2 separate regions of the Homo sapiens genome follow, and region 1 is linked to region 2. The links are contacts of gene promoters, found by promoter capture Hi-C in human tissues and cell types (Jung and others, 2019). All regions are on one chromosome and are shown on one strand. Each heading gives the region's core, a stretch centred on a gene start or on the middle of the fragment in contact. The rest is flanking DNA. Distances are from core to core; before and after follow the strand shown. Region 1 overlaps ENTPD4-DT (ENTPD4 divergent transcript). Region 2 holds the start of NKX2-6 (NK2 homeobox 6).

Region 1 (5,455 bases), core at 1,182-3,681, 220 kb before region 2:
TGAAATGAATTGTATTATCTGCCCCCTTACTGCAGAGTCTCATGTGCGAAGTCCAGGGAAAAGTGGTCCCTGGAACCCAAAACCAAGCCTTGTGGATCCCAAAGCCAATTTCCTCATTCCTACTGGTTTCCTTCTTATTCTGCCTCCATTAAAATGTCAGATGCCTCCATTGTGATCATTATCTCACTGCTTATTATCAGGGATAAGCAGAGCTTCACTGAGTGCAGGTAGAAGGCACAGGATTAACACCTGGAAGGGGGCCTGCTTCAGGAGTTGGAAGAAACGCCTGCCAAACCTCACCTGTCAGCCAGGGCCACGCGGCCAGAAGCTGTTTTCTGAGCTCACCTAGGCATTAGCACCTTGGTTGTTGACCCCTGGGAGGAGATTTCTTAAAAGTACCTTGCAACCATTTTATCCCTTTGCCATTATTTTTTTTCCAGGGGTGAGAGGAGAATTCTGCCCCCATAGCTTGTCAACATCTCTTCAGCTTGGTGGCCCACCCAGTCCACCCAGCAGAGCGACCTGCCCCACACCAGTGGCTCGCATGGGCCTTCTTATCTCCTTGGCCCAGCTGAATCTTGGTGAGCTGGTAGCGAGTTATGATCTGGGCATCCTGGAGGAGCCAGCTTCCAGGGTAGCATCAATTGCTGGGAGGGGTCTGTGGTCTGGAAGTCACATCTAGAGGTATGCAGCAAAGCCAGGTCAAGGCAAACACTATTGCCTTGTAGTTGCCTGAAGGGATAATCAGCGTGGCAGGAGGGTGTGGGAGGAAAAGGGAATAGTGGCCCCGCCCATTTCACCTTGGTGCCAGGGTGGAGTTCACAGACTAATTACAGGTTAAGGAGCTTAAGGCTTTCCACATTGCTTTCTTCCTCCTCTGTCTGCCTCACCTTCTCCTTCAGAACCACCAGGACCTATAGCAGTCCCACGGTGCTCTCCAGTCTCAGGGTTGGTGGCCAGCGTGGTGTCCCTGTGCTTTACCATGTCTTTCCATTATGTTTTCATTGTTTCTTTTCCTGCCCCATCTTGGTGCCCAGTAAGCCTACCCCCCCATTACAAAAATAACTACAACAAAAATAATTTAATACTGATGAGGCACGTCAGGCATGCAGTATCTTATTACATTGTCAAACCACGTGGATTGGGTATGTCATGCCCATTTTATAGCTGGGGAAATTGAGCCCTGGAGAAATTGAGAAACTTGTCCAAGGCCACCCAGCTGGTAAGTGGCTGGCCAGAGCCCCCACCCACACCTGCCCATGTGGGCCTGCTTCAAGGTCTGGATCACTCTGGCATCTTCCCAACTCAAATCCACCAGTTCTTCATTCCATCAGTCAGCCCTCCCAATCAGCAAGTGACCAAGGAATCCCACCATGGGCCTGGGCACTTGAGGGGACATGAAAGAAGGCCAAGCCATGGCCTCTGCCCAAGAGGAGCTGAGGAGCTGGCTGAGGAGAGAAGAAAAACACCCATAGAACAGTGAGGGAAGAAGCCAGACAGTGCTGAGATGATTTGATTTGCATTTGATGGCTACAGAGCTGGAGTCAGAGACTTAGCTTCGCACACATCCCCTGTGTGAGCGATGCCAAGCCACTGCCCTTCTCCGGATCTCAGTTTCCCTGTCTGCAAAATGAGGGGGTTGTTCTAGAAGATTGTACGTATACAAATCATACTTGCCTGTGATCAAGGGAGCATAACCCTCTTAACGGGAAAGTGGAGAAACTGAGGCCCCGGGATTAAGACTGTCCCAGAAAGTAACTGGAGCAAAGCCAGAAAAGAAAACCAAACCGAGATTTGGCCCATAGGAGAAAATCGTTGTGTTGCTAAGAATAGGACTCCACACCCAAGAGCAAGCCCTGGGAGCCCTGCGAGTTGCGGAAGAGACTCACTGACTTCTCAATGCTTTTGTGCCTGACAAAGCCCTGAGGGCGTCATCCTGGTGTGGATTTCCCTTGGTTCTTGGGCACTCAAGGAGAAGCAAATTGGTTGATTCTGATCCTTTCACTGCCAGGGTGCTGCGGGGTACCCTGGGAGCGACCAGGCTCCCATGAGCCATTTCTAAGTCATTTTCCTTAGAAACAGGAAACAGTGTTCAGGTTTGGAAGAGTGACTGAAACGAGACACTGAGAGGTTGGGGGTTGGAGGATGGGCTTCATCTGTCAGGCTGTTTTTCCTTCAAGGCAGCTGGATACAGATGCACACACAGCTCGCAGTGTGTCCTAAAGAAGGAGGCATTTGTATTGGCTACACAGAGGGGAGATCTAGAGTGGTTTTTTGCATTCTATTGTTGCAAAGTCCTGTTCTTAGCTGTATTGCCTGTTTCTTCCAGGCTGACACAGGCCTGCTGATCCAGGATGAGTGTGTTTTGAAGTTGGATGAATGTCACTGCCCCTCCTTGCCATGTTTCATAACAATAATTGGTTATGGTGCCAGCTTAAATGTGCACAGCATAAAAACCACTTCCACAACACTTCACAAACATTACCTCAACTTGTATGTAATTGGAGCAAGATGGGATATACTTCATAATGTCCATTTCACAGATAGGGACATTGAAATTCATGATTTTTTTTTCCACCAAAAAAGGTCTGTTCATGATAAAAATCTTTACCTAAATTCTATGGGTGAAGACATTCTCTATCACTTGAGGAACAGACATCCATATAGTACGGTATTGAGAAGTGAAGCCAGCTGGATTTCCTGGGTCGAGTGGGGACTTGGAGAACTTTTCTGCCTTACAAGAGGATTGTAAAATGCACCAATCAGTGCTCTGTAGCCAGCAAGAGGATTGTAAAATGCACCAATCAGCACTCTGTAAAACGCACCAATCAGTGCTCTGTAGCTAGCAAAAGGATTGTAAAATGTACCAATCAGAAGGATTCTAAAAGTAGCCACTCTCGGGGAGGATTGAGAAAAGGGCATTCTGATAGGACAGAAACGGACCATGGGAGGGGACAAATAAGAGAATAAAAGTTGGCCACCCCCCCAGCCAGCAGTGGCAACCCACTCGTGTCCCCTTCCACGCTGTGGAAGCTTTATTCTTTCACTCTTCACAATAAACCTTGCTACTGCTCACTCTTTGGGTCTGTGACATCATTAAGAGCTGTAACACTCACCGTGAAGGTCCACGGCTCCATTCTTGAAGTCAGTGAGACCACGAACCCACTGGCAGGAACCAATTCCGGACACAGTATGATACGCAGGTGACAGAGGTGAACTCAAATGACCCTTCCTGTCTTCCTAAGTCCCATGATCCCATATTATCTCTTTTCTTTCATCTTCTTTTCCCTCTTTCATCGCTTTATACCCAAAGTCATTCTCTATATGAACTTTCACTTTCCACTCCTGCTAAAGATCTGGTAGACCCAGGGCTTTCTATACCCAAAACCCTGTTCTCCTCCCAGCTTAGGACGGAAACAATAGGAGGGTGGGCTACATGCACCTTGTCTCTTATAACAGCATAAATTTATATGTGTGAGATGCTGTCAGCTTTTATAAAGTTAAAAAAAAGCTGACAAGCATGACTTCATACCTGAGATTGGGGGTGGGAAGGGCAGTCATTTCTTAAAACACTTACTGTGCCAGGTATTTTGCATAGAGTAATCCATTTATAATCTCAGGGACAGCCCCGCCCGGGAGGTTTCATTACTCCGCAGATGAGTAAAGCAACTTGCCCAAGGTCACTCAGTTAATAAGTCAGATCTGGGATTTCAAAACGGGTCCATGTATTCTTAACCACTACACCCTGCAGCCGTGGAAGAGCAGGACTCGAACTCCGGCTTCCTCACCGTTCATCCAGCACCTTTTTCACGATCAGGGCTCCCCATTCTGAAGTTTATCTTTGTGCTATCTCTAAAAGAAGGCCTTTGTCAGTGCTCACTGCAAATAAGATCAGATGAGCACTGGGGCAGGCTGAATAATGCCTCCCTCCAAAGACGGTCTCATGCTAATCCCTGGAACCTGTGTCTGTTACTTTATATGGCAATAAGGACTTGCAAGGGTGACTAAATTAAAAATCTTGAGATGGGGGACTATCCTGGATTATTTGGGTAGATTCTAAAGGTAATCACAAGGGTCTTTTTAAGAGGGAGGCAAGAAGGTGAAGGAGGAAGTAAGAGGTGTGAGAATGAAAGCAAGAGGTTGCAGTGATGGCAGTCATGGCTGGAGTCCAGGTGGCTCCGGGAACTAGGAGAAAAAGGAAACACTCTCCCCTGGAGTCCCAGGAAGCAATCATCTGGGTGGTTGATTTCTGCTCAGTGAAACTGATTTCAGACTTCCTGCCTCCAGAACTCCAGTAAGAGAATCAGTTTGTTATTTTAAGCCCCCAATTTGTGCTAATTTGTTAGGGTAGCCATAAGAAACCAATATAAGTACTAGTTACCTGCCAAGGGTATTAAACTATTTAAAGCGCTTAAATGTATCCTTTTGTATGTAAATAACGTCCAGTAATTCACTATAAGCAGAAGCCATGATTGTTCTTAGGCTGGCGCTTGGGTATTTGAATTAAAATGTATCTTGTTACTCATTAAAGCCAAAGCTATACTAGGTCAGGCTTTGCAAGCCTAATTTTTTTGTTGTTGTTGTTAAGACAGAGTCTCCCTCTGCCACCCAGGCTGGAGTGCAGTGGTGTGATCTTGGCTCCCTGCAACCTCTGCCTCCTGGGTTCAAGCAATTCTCCTGCCTCAACCTTCCGAGTGGCTGGGCCTACAGGCGAGTGCCAACGCCCGGCTAATTTTTTGTATTTTTAGTAGAGATGGGGTTTCACCATGTTGGCCAGGCTGGTCTTGAACTCGTGACCTCAGGTGATCCTCCCACCTCGGCCTCCCAAAGTTCTGGGATTACAGGTGTGAGCCACCTTGTCCGGCCTGCAAGCCTACCTTTTATTGGAAATATGAAAGTTTGGTTCATGTACAGTATTTGAAAGTAAGAAATTTAAAATCTCTATACCAAACGTCTACTAATATTCAATGTATCAGCGAAGGAAATATACTTTAATACATGCAACAAACACTAATATTCTTAGCAAAGTGGAAAAAATTCATAAATTAATTGGTATCACCTTTGTGTTCAATTCCATTCTGTTGAAGAATTATTCAGTCATATATTTCTGTCTTGAGTAGAGATGTATACATAGAAATATATATATCTTTTGGGCACATAATATAATTTATCGACTTCATATGCATTATATATATATATCACTTATCATTCTAAGTTTTGTAACAAGGCAAACTTATCAACTATTAGCTATGGGACCTGGTGTGTAGATGGAAAGAAAGTTTTTCTCATTATTCTCCCAAAAAGAGTTAGCATGTGGGTTTCAGCCTCAAAATATTTCTTGAATGTATTTGTGCTCTTTGGGTAATTTTTGTTCTTGAAAACGATGTTTACTATACATATTATTTTGTTGAAATTACCACTGACTACACAAATTACTATTTATAATAATGACTGT
Region 2 (5,783 bases), core at 1,899-4,398:
ATGGCGTGAACCCGGGAGGCGGAGCTTGCAGTGAGCCGAGATCGTGCCACTGCACTCCAGCCTGGGTGACAGAGCGAGACTCCGTCTCAAAAAACAAACAAACAAAAAACAAACAAACAAAAAAAAAACTGTGTGTGCATGGTAAACCTTCGCTGTGAGGAACAAGTGTGAGTGGAGGTGTCTATCAGATTGAGGAGACTTTGGACCCTCCTTGGAAGTAGAGAAAGAAGGAGAAGAAAGAGGAAGAGGAAGAGGAGGAGGAAGAGGAGGAGGAGAAGAAGAAGAAGGAAAGGAAGGAAAAACAGAGAGAAGCCCGGGTGTCAAGAAGGCGCAAACTCGGTGACAGGCTCTCAGGAGGCTCCTGTCTGCCTCATTTTCCTTCGCAGCCCCAAGCGCACTGCAGGGAACTTGGCTGTAAGTCCAGGAGCGGGAGCCTTGAGTGTCTCCTACCTTCACCCAACTTTTGTGCACACTCTTGTCTTTTTGACGCAGCGCTCCACCAACACCAGGGATGCATCCCAGCTTTCTTGGATGTGATGCTTTGTAATCCAAATTAACAATATATGATGAAAACAAAATATTTATTGGCTCCTGACTTTTGGCTCAGAAACTGAGGTTCTCTTTGAGAGATACATAAAGTTGAGGTCCACATTTGGCTTCTTAAAAAGTAGCCTCTCCCTCCTTTGGGGTCTTTCTGGCAAGCAGGTGGTGTGGGCTTCACCCTGAAGTCTTCCTTTCACCCAGGGCGACCCCTACAGCTGAGACTGTGCCCACCAAGATGCAGCGTTTTCCTCCCTTCTCACTTCTCTCCTGTCTGGGCTTAAACCCCGTTTTACCCCAAGGGTGGATAGAAGGGAAATGCTGAGTTTTCATGGGATCTCACGCCAGGAGAAAATCAGGAGCATGGAAGGGGTGCAAGTTCATGGCAAGACGGGACAGGACTCTAAATGAGCCAGTGCGATTGGAACCAGACTCCTAATACCCAAGGCACTGGCACAATCTCCTGGAGGGGGATGGAGCTGTTTGGTATGTAAAGTTTGAGGACAGAACAACTTCCTTCAGAGACGTCTGTGCTCAGATAAACTGAGGCCATCTCCACTTGCAAAGAGGAAAAATTCTGAGGAGGGTTTGTTTTCTTAGCGCATCGAAAGGTAACAACTGACCTTCAGCCAGGCTGCAGAGCAAGGAGGACCCCATTTCAAAGTCACAGATCATGCAGGCCCTGGGGCTGCACAGCACCGCAGGGTGGGCCAGCACCCTGCGCCCTTCTGTTCACAATCCTGGAGTTCTTGAGGGCAAGGTGGTTAGCTGCGATGGAGGAAGGCATGAAGCCCACCGAAGGTGTCTTCCCTGTCCGGATCGCTACCGCGGCCTTGGGCTCAGTTCCTGGAGCCGGCCTCGGGTCCGGCCTCGGGTCCCTCCTCGGCGGCGTCCACTGCTGCCGCAGAAGAGACGCTCCCAGGATTTGGTTTCCAGTGGGAGAAGGAAGGCGCCGCAAATACCATCGGCTGCGAGGCGACTGTGGTGGTCGAAGGAACGTGATCCTTTGTCAGCTCAGCGGAGCCGAAGTGATCGCCGAGTTGGCTGAGCAGCGCCGAGGGAGTTTAGAATCCGCTGCAGAAAACCTACCAGCTTCTTCGCGGACACAGCAGGTAATGTTCTTAGGCTTCTGGAGTTAGTGAGTAGCCGGCCTGCAGGCCGGTAAATAACTCCGATCTAGCCCCTTGGTTTATTTCTTTCGTTCGCGCCTTGAATGGAGGCGCCATGGCACAGTCTGGCAGAGGAGGCCTGCCCTGGCGGGCGCTACTCAGGGCCCCTGCGTTGAGAATGCCGAGTGAGGTGCTGAGGTTTGGAGAGAAAAAGGTGGCGTTTTCATCCCTTGGAATATCGGGCCTCTCCAGCTGAAGCCTCCGGATCGACACAACACAACTCCCGGATCGACGCAACACAACTCCCCGCCAGCCCCTTCCCTTCCAGCGGGCTGGACACAGGTGCGTGGGCCTCGCAGCCCGGCGCGCACGGTTGCGCCTTTGGATACCTGCGACAGGACTCGGCCAGAACCGTGTCCCAGGGCAGAGAAAACCCTGGCAACCTTTAACGTTCTCCCTGACGCGGAGAATCCTGCGCCAACGGGGCCTTCCACTTCGGGAGACTCAATCGCCACCCGGTCCCCAACTTTCGTCTTCCAGAAGAAAAATCCATGAGGAGGAATGGGGGGGTCCCCCGACCAGACCAGCAAGAAAGGGCCCAGTTAGGAGTGACCTCAGCGCCACGAGGGTTCCACTGCTTTGATGGCCACACGCTTTTGCAAACGGTTTGGGGGTGGAGAGACACCAGGTGATGGTAGGGAAGGGCGGTGGTGACTGGCACGGCTAAGACACTGCGGAGGGTTTCGCTGTGGAGATGAGAAGGTGGAGGTTCTGGGCACTGTGGCTGCGAGTGTGAGCGATGCGTTTGTGGGAATCAGAGGAGCGGATTTGGGAAAAGTGAATCCTTGAGATTCAGGGCCTTACTTTCGTTAGGGGTGTGTGAAGCACACTGGGTGTCAGGAGAGGATGGGAATGGGATTCGAGAGGCCTTTTTTTGGACTCCTCGAGAGAAAATGGAGAGAGTCTCGAACCCAGGAGATAGGAGGCGTATTTTCCCCATGCACCCATGGATCACGCCCCCGCCCCCACATTCCCCCCGTAGGAGGCAAGACCTGAGCGCTTACTCACGTGGCTCCCCCATCCGTTCCGCGTCCATCTCCAAGACTGCCTCACAGGGACCCCCAGGAGGCTCCGAACCATCCAGCTTTCTGTCACCGCCGCCGCCACCAGCGTTGTGAACCTCTGACCCTCGCGGCTCTGCGTCCATTCTCAGGTACTGAAAGTTTTCCGGGCTCTTCCGCACCCGCGGATGTGGCGAAGCCGCGGGGCAGCTCCGCTCGCGCTCCAGTCGCAGGATGTCCTTGACCGAGAAGGGGGTGGAGGTGACGGGGCTCAGCAGCATCCCGAAGGCGGATGGGGCGGGGCCGAGGAGGTCCGGGTGAGGAGCGGCACCCTGAACTTCCCGTCTTGTCGCTGCAGGCCCCGCAGACAGACCCAAGCTCTGGGACAGACGCCCAGCGTCCCAGACAGCGCCTTCCTCTGGGCCATGCTGGTAGGCCCGGGTCCAGGGCCGGGTGACGAGACCGTAGCCCCCCATTGGTTCTCGCAGAAACCACGTGCTAGCTCTGCACCTTCCTCCCCCAGCGCTTTCTTCCCGCGCCCGTCGAATCCTCTCCAGTCCCCAGTCGCCTTCCTGGGAGGTTTGGTTCGTATTGACGGTTCTCAAAGCAAAGAAAACGTGGAGAGACAGTGCTGCGCGCGGCTTGGATCTCCGTCAATACGGTACTAGCGGGAGCTTCCGAGGTCAACCTAGGGTCCACGGGGACCCTCCTAGTGGACATGCGGGGATTGGAGGTGGAGTCCTTGCTGTGCAACCCGATCCGGTCCATCCAGCCTGGTCTTAGCTCAACTCTGCATTCTTATGGCGGAGGAAAGCTAAGATAGAGACAGCTGGGACCCGCGGAATTTGAGGCGCGCGCTGGGATCTTACGTGCGCAGAGGCCGGACCGCAGAGTAGAAGTGAGTCTTGACCCACCAGGGCCTATATTGAGATGGAAACCTCTCTCTTTGAACAGAATCCAGGTCTGCGGAGTCCCGACCCGCCACTTCCTAGGAGCAGCTTCTCAGCCCCAGGACCGAGGAATGGGTGTGGGGGCTACATGTGGGGAGCCCTCGACCTCTTAAAGGGCTCCGCGAATGGTGGGGGAGACTGGAAGGCAATCTCTGCGGCCCGCGCAAAGTGGTCAGAGGCGGGAGTGGGGGTGGGGGGGGGTGGGCTTCCGTCGCCCTTGGCGTCCCCACGTTCTTTTTCTTCCTCTCCTTTATCCTCCTTAAAGCGGATTGCCTGGAGCGTGCCAGCTTGTGTGCGCGTATAAATGCGGCGCCCGCCGAAGGGCTGGGAAGATTTGACTCGCATTAGATCTCCAGAAAAGGCCCTTGGTTACGGCGGGCACCGAGTAAATGGCGCAGTGTGGCACAAAGGTTACCAACACGGAGATAGCGCCAACAGATCCAGCCCCTGCTGTTACTACTCCTGGATCAGGGAAACGTGATTTGGTGTCAGCTGTTCCAGCACTGAATCGAAGAGGGTTTAAAAATTGTGTTTTAATCACAATGGGATCTCATTAGAGTTCTTTTGGGGATTTCAGATCAAATGTTTCTTTTTGTTTTTCTTTCCTTCCTTTCCCTCCCTCCCTCCCTCCTTTTTCTTTCTTTCTTTTCTTTCTTTCTCTTTCTTCCTTTTTTTTTTTTTTTTTGGTTACAGGGTCTCTCTCTGTCTCCCAGGCTGGAATGCAGTGGCCGGATCATGGCTCGCTGCAGCCTCGACCCGGACTCAGTGATCCTCCCACCTCAGCCTCCTGAGTAGCTGGGACCACAGATGCAGCCACTAAGCCTGGCTATTTATTTATTTATTTATTGCTTGTAGAGCCGGGGTTTCGCCATGTTGCTTAGGCTGGTCTTGAACTCCTGGGCTCAAGTAATGTGCCCACCTCGGCCTCCCAAAGTGCTGGGATTACAGGTGTGAGCCACCGCGCAGGCTTCAAATGCTTCTTAAACCTACTTACGTGAATTCAATGTTACAACAGCTGTTTGAATATGATTATCTCCTGAAATTCAGATAAACCCAACTCATCTCCCCAGGCTAATGGGTGCAAAATTGCACACAAATATTTATGCAAAATTTCAGCACATTTGATCATTCAGCTACAAAGTAATGATTTCCTATACATGGTAACATTTAATCTTCACATCAAAGCTATACCCAAATATTTCCAGCTGCTGCTCCTTCTTCTTCTTCCTCCTCCTCTTCTTCTTCTTCTTCTTCTTCTTCTTCTTCTTCTTCTTCTTCTTCTTCTTCTTCTTCTTCTTCTTCTTCTTCCCCTCCTCCTCCTCCTCCTCCTTCTCCTTCTCCTTCTTCTTCTTTTGTTCAGCGAGGAGTCCAGATCAGAGAGGTGGCCCAGATAGTTCACCAAATGGCAAGACCAGACTAGCCTCTAAACCAAGACAATTTACCCTGTCTTTCTTTCTTTTTGAAATATACATCCTTTGCTCTTAGAGATCTCAAAATCTTCTGATGACCCATACATTTATTTGAATTTTTGTTTCCTGATAAAAGTCATCATGCGCACCTTGGAAAAAGTGAAGAAAAGTTAAAAGAAAATATCCACCCAGAGACAACATTTTAGTGGACCTTCTTGTCTTTATTTCTGTATATATGAGCTCATAGGGTATATATGTTTGTATATGTTTAAATTTACATCATAAGCATGCCCAGTTCATCTTTAGAATTTTTTAAACAAATATAATTTAAAATAGGAATCTAATATTTCATGTTATTGATAGACCGTAGTAGACTGTGTTTGTATTTTTAGATAATATCTTTTTTTATCACTGTAAATAAGACTTTATTTTGTGCCTTCAATTTTCATCCTTGTCAATATTTTCTGTTATTTTCTCAGGATACATATGTAGAAGAAACATCAATCAGTCAAATATTTTAATGCTCATAAGACATGCCATTCCAGGGCTTCCTAGAAAAACAGTATTATCGTATTTTGTTCCCGGAGGTGCAGGCGAGTGCCTGGTCTACGGGTGTTTACAATCATCACCGGGCACCCACAAGAGACCCTGAACTTAGAATATTTCCGCGGTAGGAGTTCCGCCTCGTCCTTCCAGGGGATACTGACGACTCGC

What was found. The method cuts DNA at HindIII sites, captures the fragments that hold promoters and counts their contacts. A contact is called where the count stands out against the background at its distance.
Region 1: a contact is called between a fragment that was not itself captured here and the fragment with the promoter of NKX2-6 in region 2, in 1 of the 25 tissues and cell types used here (H1 embryonic stem cells).

What each region holds. Positions count from the first base shown.
Region 1 is chr8:23,486,500-23,491,954 of GRCh38, forward strand. The region is part of intron 3 of ENTPD4-DT (ENTPD4 divergent transcript); the gene reads left to right. It overlaps LOC105379327 (a long non-coding RNA gene), which reads right to left. Exons shown (of 3, transcript NR_188142.1): 3 at 4,978-5,455. Among named protein-coding and RNA genes, the nearest start is that of ENTPD4-DT, 31 kb to the left of the region's middle. The HindIII fragment of the contact is 6,430 bases long and covers 1-5,455 here.
Region 2 is chr8:23,703,608-23,709,390 of GRCh38, forward strand. It overlaps NKX2-6 (NK2 homeobox 6), which reads right to left and starts at 3,149. Exons shown (of 2, transcript NM_001136271.3): 1 at 2,718-3,149. The coding sequence starts at 2,991. All of the region lies in intron 3 of LOC107986930 (a long non-coding RNA gene), which reads left to right. RefSeq lists an enhancer at 869-1,768. The HindIII fragment of the contact is 29,317 bases long and covers 1-5,783 here.